Linked DNA regions of Homo sapiens: region 1 is linked to region 2. Evidence: promoter capture Hi-C in 16 types of primary human blood cells and fetal thymus (Javierre and others, 2016). All regions are on one chromosome and are shown on one strand. Each heading gives the region's core, a stretch centred on a gene start or on the middle of the fragment in contact. The rest is flanking DNA. Distances are from core to core; before and after follow the strand shown.

Region 1 (5,107 bases), core at 722-3,221, 1.5 Mb after region 2:
CATGGTGGAGCACACCTGTTGTTTAAGGACTTATCAAAAGTGTAAGTCCAGCCTTCCATAAGCATTTCAAGATAAATTATTACAGCATAAAATGGAGGCCTTTAAATAGGAGAATGAAGTGGTTTGATTTGTAATTTTAAATGATTGCATCAACAGCTGTTTTATGGTATAAAATGCCCAGTTAGGAGGCTGAGGCGGGAGGATCACTGAGTCTGGGAGGTTGAAGCTGCAGTGAGCCAAGACTGCACCATTGCCCTACAGCCTGGGTGACAGAGCAAGACCCTGTCTCAAAAACAAAACAAACAATATAATCACAGGAAAAGGGTTTTGTAAAATTTTGCAACATTTTTAACTTCCTCAAGGTTAGGTTTCAGATTTATTATTTTTGTTTTCCAACATTAATTAGATGTAAAAACTCTTAAAACAAAAATGCCTTCAGCTAGCCTTTACAAATCAGATAAGAGGGAAAGGTTGGGAAGAGCAGCCAAGTTGCTTAGGGGCCGTATCCAAGTAGCAGAGTGAAAAGGCTGTACTTCTGAAGCTTCCTGCAATGGAGAGAAGTGTTAGCAGGGGTTGTGAGAAGAGCTCTGGTCGGAATGAAAAGCAGTGGTATACCATCAGCTGCTCGCTCACTTGCTCTCTCATGCACGAATCCAGCGGAGCCTGACGGCACTTTTCAGAGGGCATTTTCTCCAATGAGGCAAAAAGTCAAAGCCTGAGGATCTTGAAATGCTTATGTTAGGCTGGATCTACACTTTTGACCAGTCCTTAAACAACAGGGCTCCTTTGTGTGGTGTCTGATGCCAATCATGTGACCTAGCTAAAGGCAGCAATGTAACCATCCCACAATTCATTTATTTATTCAACAAATATTTATTGAGTTCTCTATTTACCAGGCAGTCAGCTTCCAGGATCTAGGATGGGATACTGTGGTGAGCAAGACAGACAAGGTCCCTGCCCTTAAGGGACTTAAAGACAAAACAAAACAAAAAATAAAACAAGTAAATAAATGAGATCACTTCCATTAATAACAGTGCCATGAAGGGTCATGCGCCATGAAAGGCAGGTGGTGAGGCTGAGGATCTTGGGCCACAATGAGCCGAGGAGCTGAGGTGACTGGGGGCGCCAGGGTCTGGGGGTGCGGGCAGGCAACAGACCACAGGGGACTTACAGGCCATTATAAGGAGTTTTTATGTCATAAATTATTATGACATAAATTGGAGGGCTTTAAATAGGGGAGTGAAGTGGTCTGATTTGTAATTTTAAATGATCGCGTCAGCAGTTGTTTTATGGTATAAAATGCCCAGCTTTAAGATGACCATGCATTCTACAAATTCACCGTGACATCACTGCCAAAACTCTTAACCTGTCTTATCTAGTTTTCCTGACAGATAAATAGGTCGGAATAAAGCTCCATGACATAACTAGTGGGAGCCAAAGATTTGAATCACGTCTTGGTTTCAAATCTTGCTACCCACAAATGAGTTGTGAGCTCTTGTCAGGTTATTTACTGTATTTGTGCCTCAACTATCTCAGCTGTGAAATGGGGATAATGAAAGTTCCTACATCATTTATTTGTGGAAAAAAAAATGACATGTAAAGCACGACGAGAGCGCCTGGCACAATGTAGTAAGCTTTCACAAACACTCACTTTCATTCCTTCTTGCAGGGGATTACTGAGAGGATCCACAAGATAATGCACGTGAAAGGGCTTGCGAAATTGTAAGGACTATCTTAATGGTAGAGTCCTCTTTATGTTTTCTTTTAAACGGTCCAGAGGACGCTGGGCTGTTCGAGGAGAGGCGCGAGGCCAAGCGCAGCCTCAATGCGGTCATTGTCGTGGGGCCGCCCCTCCCCCGCCCGGGGCGCTTCTCCATGGCAACGTGGGCTTTACCTCTCCCCGCCTCCTCAGGCCCGCAGACCGGAAGCAGCCCGCGCCGGGGGCTTCTGGGAAAAGGCTTGTGAACGGCGTTTCTGCGTCTGCCGTGGACAGCGAAGCTGCTGCGGTTCCTGAGCCGGAGGTTTGCGCCGGTGTGCGGGGAACGTTATGAGAGGGAGGGGGGACACCGGGCTAGGGTCTGCGGACCTCTTAGCAGGAGCCGGCGGGGAAGCCTGTCCGGGACCTTCCTCAGCTTCCCGGGAGGCGCGGGGAACAGGCCGCGGTCTCCGCGCCTAGCAGTTGTGGGGCGGGGAGGGGTAGGCGGCAGGCCTGCTTGGGTCTTCGGCATTTGCAGAGAGCTCTCTAACCCCCTGTGTCCTCCGAGACCCTCACCTTCCCCCTCCCCCACCGGCCGGTTTTGTTCTATTTCGAGGCCCTGGCGTCTCGCGGAGGGTTCTGGGAGTCGTGATGGGAGGGGGTGGTAGTGGGACGAGACTTGCGCGGGGCTTCTGGGATTTGTAGTCTCACCGGCCGCAGGCGGAAGTGCCGTGGTTCCGACGCTGTTGTCACAGGGTGGCCTTTGGTCATCTGAAATCCGCGGTCCTGAGTGCTGGGAAGAGGGGCTAGAGGACGTCGGGCCGGGGCCGGGGCCGGGGCCGGGATACACAGCAGGTCTATGCAGCAGTAAGGTGGGCGATCCACCTGGGACGAGGTACCCTGCCCAAACATTGTCGGGACCGTGGGCCTTCCCTCCATTTCCCACAAGCGGTATGCTCTACAGCATAAAAGGAAGAGAAAATTATGTAGAAATACTTGCACCGTTGATAAGCAGGGTCTTGGAATAGGAACGAATGAATGTTGGCTAGACCTTATGTATAAGGCCACCACACTCCAGGGTATTTAATTAAACCAGTATGTATTACTTGTCTGATAAGGCCTTTTCTGATTCTAGTCTTCATCTTGCTTGGGTTACAATAAGTTTTTTTAAGTTGTTATTGTTCAGATTTTGGGCCCTGAATAAATAAATAGGCTGAATGGCTCATTGCTAGTATGTGTCGTAAACAACAGCACGGGCATGATCGTGCAAATAATAAAGGTCCAGAAGCAGTATACAGTTTCACTGAAGGTAGAAGCTGGGGAAACTGTGAGTCCTCCAGTGTAAGGACAAGACACTGGACCACTGCAGGAAGTCAAGGTGCTTATGCGAGTGCCTTTTCTTAATAGAAGTTTCTGTGATTAATGCCTATCATTATAAATATAAATGTACGTATGGTGTGGTGGAAGACTGAATATTTACGTATTATGTGCAAGATAATTTTTCAAAATTATGTGATGTTTTTCACATATGATCTTTTCAATATTATGTGATCTGCTACTCAGCAAGTGAACATTTTTTCACATATAAGTCCAAGGAGTTCTTAAACACCTTAAAAATATTTTTTAAATGGTAAAGAAAATTTTTTTAAGCACATAATAATAAAGCGAACCTTCCTTTTGAGTTGACTTGTGTGTGTCAGGAAACACCAATCCTGAATTGGAAATAATGCGTTCCAGGGTCAGGCACATTTAGAAAGCACTGAAGTAGTCTGGTTCTTACTTGGATTCTTTTGATTATTGACATAGGGTTTGTCGTCTTAGTAGGTCATGATTGGCAAACTTTTTCTGTAAGCGGCCATATAGTAAATAAGGTCATGCATAACTCAACGATAGTGCTATGGTCTGAGAAATATGTTAGGCTATTTCATCCTTGTGTGAACGTCATAGAATGTACTTGCACAAACCTAAATGGCGTAGCCTACTACACACTTAGGCTATCTGGTATAGCCTATTGCGCCTAGGCTACAAACCGGTACGGCATGTTGCTGTACTGAATACTGTAGAGAATTGTAACACAATGCTAACTATTTGTGTATCAAAACATAGAAAAGATAAGAGTAAAATATGATATAAAATGTTTGAAAAAAAAAAAAGATATGCCTGTACAGGGCACTTACCATGAATGGACCTCGCTGGATTGGAAGTTGCTCTAAGAAGTCAGTGAGTGAGTGGTGAATTTGGAGGCCTGGGACATTATTGTACATTCCTATAGACCATATAAACACTGAACACTTAGGCTACACTAAATTTATTAAGAAAACATTTTTCTTCAATAATTAACCTTAGCTTACTGGAACTTTTTCACTTACAAACTTTTACATTTTTTTTTAACTTTTTTACTCTTTTGTGATAACACTTCACTTAAAATACAAACACATTGTACAGCTGTACAAATATATTTATATCCTTATTCTGTAAGCTTTTTGCTTTTTTTTTTTTATAGACAGAGTCTCGCTCTGTCGCCAGGCTAGAGTGCAGTGGCGCGATCTTGGCTCACTGCAGCCTCCACCTCGCGGGTTCAAGAGATTCTCCTGCCTCAATCTCCCCAGTAGCTGGGACTACAGGCGCAATCCACCACGCCCAGCTAATTTTTGTATTTTTAGTAGAGACAGGGTTTCACCATGTTGGCCAGGATGGTCTTGATCTCTTGACCTCGTGATCTGCCTGCCTCAGCCTCCCAAAGTGCTGGGATTACAGGCCTGAGCCACCGTGCCCGGCACAGCTTTTTGCTATTTTTAAATTCATTTTTTAGAGACAGGGTCATACTCTGTTGCCCAGGCTGGAATGCAGTGGTGTGATCATAGCTCAGTGGAGCCTTGAACTCCTGGTCTTTAGTGATCCTCCTGCCTCAGCCTCCTATAGTGCTGGGATTACAGGTGTGAACCATTGCACCTGGCCAATTTTTTTTTTCTTTTGGAACTGTTTTTGTTAAAAGCTAAGATAAACACATTAGCTTAGGCTTACACAGGGTCTGGATTATCAGTATCATTGCCTTCTACCTCCATATCTTGTCCCACTGGAAGGTTTTCAGGAGCAGTAACATACATGGAGCTGTCATCTCCATAATAACAGTGCCTTCTGTAATACCTCCTGAAGGACCTGCCTGAGGCCATTTTGCAGTTAACTTTTTTATTTAGTAAGTAGAAGGAGCACACTCTAAAATAATATAGTATAAAAAGTATAGTAAATACATAAACCAGTAACATAGTCGTTTATTATTGTTATCAAGTTTTATGTACCATACATAACTGTATGTGTTAAACTGGCAACACAGCAGGTTTGTTTACACCAGCATCACCACAAACATGTGAGTAATGTATTGACCTTACAACAGCTACAGTGTCACTAGGT
Region 2 (5,689 bases), core at 1,780-4,279:
TAACAAGCAAATCTATAGAGACTGAAAGCAGATTAGTGTTTGCTAGGGGCTGAGATGACTGGGGAATGAGAAGTGCCTAATTGGTATGGGGTTTCTTTCTAGAGTGATAAAAATGTTTCGAAACTAGATTGTGGTGATGGATCCACAACTCTGTGAATATAAACACATACAAAATCAAAATAATAAACTGTACACTTTAAAAAGGTGAATTTTATATGCAAATTATATCTCAATTTGAAAAAAAAGAGAGTTGACTAAAGCAAATGTAATATGTATTTTGGGGTCTGTGCACATAAGTAAAATGTATGACAACAATATCAAAAAAGTCAGGAGGTGAGAAATAAAGTACAGTGTTGAAAGGTCCTTAAACTATAGGTAATGTGGGAAAATATCACTTGATAATAGGCTATGATAAATGAAAGATGTATACTATAATCTCTAAAGAAGCCACTGAAATAATCCAATCAAAAGTTATAGCCAATAGGACAAAAATATGAACTTAATCTAAAAGAAGGCTATTGTTCAATGTAAAACAAATCAACCATTATGTGAAAAAACATTTTTTAACTTTTTTTGATAAGAACTTGCAAATTCAACTATTCACACCCCAGTGTGAAGTGGGTACACTGGTACAAGTAACGTAAAGTAGGCCTTTTGATTCAATCACAGTAAAATCCTGTAGTAATAAATGAGGCACTGGAAATATCTTTGAGAACATAATTCACAGACTGAAAAAAGTTTTCTATAAAAGGTCTGATAGTAAATGTTTTTAGCTTGTGGGCATGCAGTCTCTGTAGCAACCCTGCTATTGTAACACAAAAGCAACCATAGACAATTATGTAAAACAATGAGCACAGCTGTATTCCAAAAAACCTTTATTTATAAAACAGGCAGAAGGATTTGGTCCACAGGTTATAGATTCCAGAACATTCATATACAAGTTTTGTGTAGACATCCTAGTGAGTGTGAAGTGGTATTGAACAACTCTGGTTGCAGAGGGAAAATATAACAAAAATTAAAGTAAAATAAACTGGTCAGATAGGACATGTGCCAAAGGAATGCACCGATACTATTACTATGCCTAGTCATTGATTTGTCCCTCATCTTTACGAGGGTTCATCTATCAAATAAATTCACAAGAATAAAAATCAAAAAGGATGCCTAATTAAAAAGCAATTCTCATCAGTTTGATTTACCAATGCCACACAGATCAGAATGTAGTTCTTTTGAGACATATCAAGATAATACATTATCATGGCTAATGCTTACAGCAAGTCAGATGTTTTGGAGCAAAACCCTTGAGTAATCCAGATAATTTAGGCTCAAACCTGGCATCATCAAAGGATCCTGGAATCCTCTGTATCTTTTAAGAATGTTTGTTGATCACCTAGTATACTTTCAAAGGTTCTTCTACCCTTTTTGGTCAGCACTCATAAAGACTGGAGAGCAAGGAAAAAAAAAGACGAAAAAAATACTAACCTGTTCATCTACTGAATCTCCTGTGCCTTTTAAGGACTCCATGGAGATTGAAGCATCAGTCACCCTGGAAGTCTTAAGTTTAACATCAGCTTTTGGACTCATCAGCTTGTGTCTTGATCTGACATTTCCTTCAGCAGAAATTCCTAAGGATTTCCATTAAACAAGATTTCAAAATTATACCTTATTATCTTAAACCCTCCCCCATCAACTCCTTCCTTGGAATCCTCTACTTTAAGGGACCTGATGGAGGAAACTCTCTTACTTTATAAACTTAATTTTAAAGCTCTTAATATATGAATCATAAAAAGAATATGTTTTAAAGAAATACACTAAAGATTGAATTGAAATTTGTTTTTATATTTATTTTTTTAAAGAGACAGGGTCTTCCTATGTCTATCCAGGCTGGACTTGAACTCCTGGGCTCAAGCAATCCTCCCACCTCAGCCTCTGGAGTAGCTGGAACTACAGGATCAAGCAACCACATCCAGCTTAACTGAAATATTTGTAAAGGGTACTGTAAATATTCATAAGTCACATTAAAACCAATAAATTACGATATGCCAAATATATGTTAACTTAGGGGAAATCAATGATATTTTTCACCCTATATAATGAGGGTGCCTTCAATAGTTGCTTTACTACCATCTAGTTACAACCATTAAACTTGAAGTGCCTCTTACATATACCCTGTATCAAGCAGTAGTCACACTTTTATTTGAAATATTAAATTTGGCTATCATTTGTAAAAGAAAAAATAAGAAAAGAATCTTTTGCCCCTTGCCACATGAAGTGTTCTACAAGTTCATTAAAAGCTGATTGGGCCAGCCAATCCCAAAGATAAGCCAGTATTTCAAACCTTAATAGGGTTATGACAAATATTCAAAAAAAACAAATTTTAGGTTTTGATGTACTGCTCTGCATTCAGTTATTTATACCCGCAACATTGTTCTAATAGCTTTATTTTCTTCTAACATTTAAGGACCAAAGTAAGCTTCCCAAATTTTAACATAGAAAATCATACCTGGAACGTATACTACTGATTGTTCTTCATCAGAAACTACGCAGGAGAACATGAAGGAAAATACAATAATATTATCCGGCATCCAAATGCTGCTTCTGTTCTGTATACCTCTTATAATTCATAATTTCTTTTGACCTGGGAATTTGTAACTAACTTTTAAAAACAAAGTTAGAAAGCAAAGTAATTGAATTAAAAACAAAGTTAGAAAGCAAAGTAATTGAATTAAATGTAGCAAAATTAATATTCTCTAAAAGTTCACCTTTATATATTCACAACTACACATCTTATAAAAATCTTGGAAGGTCTTGTTCCATGAAACTTTTATCCACTCTCAAGTGGGTTACCCTGCAATATATACTCTACTATTAGGTTCCTTTCCTTTTGTAAACAAAAACTTAAGTGCTCCAGTTTGGTCATTACTGAGGAACTGACAATTCTGAAGAGTAAATAATTTCAAGATAGACTTTAGCTTTGAAGAACAAACACTGAGGGCAAGTCAATCATGCAAACACAAAGACATTATTTATTCTTCTACAGTGTATTCATAAAATATCCCAAGAAGCCCTACTATTTAAAAAGTAGAAGAAATTTAAGACAAAAAGAACTATTTTGAATTTCAAAAGGAGAAATTTAGAAAGGCTATGATTATAACACACTGTTTTCAACTGTCACCTTGATCCAACTCAACTTTTCCTCTCCCAGGATTATTGCAATAAGCTCCTAACTGCTCTCTGTCACTTCTGTGCATGTTCCCTTAACAGCCTATTTTTTCACACAGTGGTTAGAATGATCATTTTAATAGTTATGTCATTTCTAATTTAGATTAAAAGCCAAAGTATTAACAACAGCCTGCAATGCTCAAGATCTGATCCCTGTAACTTGTTACATCTCTGATCTCACTTGCTACTATTCCTCTCACTCATTCCTGGCTTTCTTATAATTGTTAACAAGCTATGCAAGCTCCTACCTTATAGCTTCTGCAGGTATGATTTCTTCTACCCAGGAAGCTCTTTCCTCAAATATCTTCATGGCTCACTTTAGGACTTATGTCATATGTCATGTCATGTCACCTTCTGATTGAAGCTTTCACTTCCTAACCATATAGGTACTTGAAATTGCAAAACTCTCTCTTCCCACAACCTACCTACCTCCCGCTACTATCTGCCTCTTTCCTGCTTTATTTTTTCTCCACAGCACCAATATCATTGAACATAGGCCAGGTGCAGTGGCTCACGTCTGTAATCCCAGCACTTTGGGAGGCCGAGGTGGGCATATCACGAGGTCAGAAAATCGAGATCATCCTGGCTAACACGGTGAAACCCTGTCTCTACTAAAAATGTAAAAAAAAAAAATTAGCCGGGCATGGTGGCGGGTGCCTGTAGTCCCAGCTACTCCAGAGGTTGAGGCAGGAGAATGGTGTGAACCCAGAAGGCGGAGCTTGCAGTGAGCTGAGATGGCACCACTGCACTCCAGCCTGGGCAACAGACCGAGACTCTGACTCAAAAAAAAAAAAAAAAATCATTGAACATATATTTTCCTTATTCATGACCTGATCTCATCTCACTAAAATGTAGGCACCAAGAGGGTAATGATTTTTGTTTTATTTTGTTCAGTGTTGTACCCTCAAACATAAAAGAATGTCTGGCTCCATCTATGAAAGAATAAAATTGGTATTGATTTAATTTTATGAGGTGTTGTCCAACAACCTTATATGTTATATTTCTGTGATTCTAAATATGCAAACAAAACTTTTTTTTTTTTTTTTTTTTGAGACAGAGTCTCGCTCTGCCACCCAGGCTGGAGTGCAGCGGTTTGATCTCAGCTCACTGCAACCTCCACCTCCTAGGTCAAGCAATTCTCTGCCTCAGCCTCCCGAGTAGCTGGGATTACAGGTGCCCGCCGCCACACCTGGCTAATTTTTTTTGTAGTTTTAGTAGAGACGGCCGTTTCATCATGTTGGCCAGACTGGTTTTGAACTCCTGACCTTGTGATCCACCTGCTTTGGCCTCCCAAAATGCTGGGATTACAGGTGTGAGCCACCGCAAGCGGCCAACAAAACCTTTTACTTTCAGCTACATCCATGACAAATTTATTTTCAAATATATAAAACTCTAAACAAACTACTTCAATATTTTTAATAACAATATTTGAAATTGCCTCTATCCTTTCTAATAATTTGTAATGTATTTTCATCTCATTATATTAAGAACCCAAATATTTACCTCCTTCAAATCTAGAATTTCCCAACAAATGTATATTTTATGGGGAAGTCAAACAGACACATTATATACCAAATGTATAGTGGGCCTACTAGTGGGTCATTTCTAGATTATTTATAATACCTAAAACAATGTACATGCTATATAAATAGTAGTTAAATTGTACAGTTTAATTTGTATTTTTTTGTGTGCTATTTCTTTTTTTTCTCAAATATTTTCCATCCACATTTGAATGAATCAGCAGATACAGAGGGCTAACTGTAATTAGAAACCCAGGCAGAAGTGGTAGAGAGGAAGATGCACCTCTATCCCAGACCTCCAGGATTTGAAGGAAATAAGTTCAGTACTGCCCATTCTACTCTAATCTGCTGAGTTTTGCCAGCAATACATGTATATGTAATTATTATCAACCACAGAGACTTTCTGGGCTAATATATTATTTTTACCACAACATACAGTCTTTGTTTCCATTTGAAAACTCAACAGCAGAGATTATACTGCAATGTTTTGACCAGGTCACTTGCAGTTCATATTTTTTAATATCAAGTCCATGATATTGCTAATGGTAATACACTTGAGTGCATTTAAGCAGTCAAATTTAGGTACTGCTGAAACACTAACTCATTCTGACATTACTAGGAACTGTAATGAAGGACAAAGGCAACTTAAACTGAAGGAGCATATTTTGCTGGAAGATTTAACCCATAACATGACAACACCACACACTCATTGTTTACAGATGAGGTACTAAAACGTTCCTTGTGCAAAACAGCACTGCTGAATCATACTGTGCAGGAGATGTATAACTCACAACAACAACAATAAAAAAAAAAGGTGCCATTGAGTCACAGATGATCTGTCCTCTCATGATGGAAACATCAAGGACTAAGAAATCTCTCCATCACATTTCTCTAAATGTTTAGGTGAAGTATTGAAAATCTTTTTTCAATAGTGTGAAAAGAATACCAGA

What was found. The method cuts DNA at HindIII sites, captures the fragments that hold promoters and counts their contacts. A CHiCAGO score of 5 or more calls a contact.
Region 1: the fragment with the promoter of ZNF24 here is called in contact with a fragment that was not itself captured in region 2 in 1 of 17 cell types (non-activated CD4 T cells); the score reaches 7.8 in non-activated CD4 T cells.

Annotation. Positions count from the first base shown.
Region 1 is chr18:35,341,284-35,346,390 of GRCh38, reverse strand. ZNF24 (zinc finger protein 24) reads left to right here and starts at 1,971. Exons shown (of 4, transcript NM_006965.4): 1 at 1,971-2,031. It overlaps LOC124904283 (a long non-coding RNA gene), which reads right to left and starts at 2,337. Exons shown (of 2, transcript XR_007066337.1): 1 at 1,652-2,337. RefSeq lists a silencer at 1,744-1,913 and an enhancer at 2,594-2,653. The HindIII fragment of the contact is 2,541 bases long and covers 1,637-4,177 here.
Region 2 is chr18:36,831,167-36,836,855 of GRCh38, reverse strand. It overlaps KIAA1328, which reads right to left. Exons shown (of 10, transcript NM_020776.3): 2 at 2,501-2,536; 3 at 1,480-1,622. Among named protein-coding and RNA genes, the nearest start is that of KIAA1328, 4.9 kb to the right of the region's middle. The HindIII fragment of the contact is 1,113 bases long and covers 2,473-3,585 here.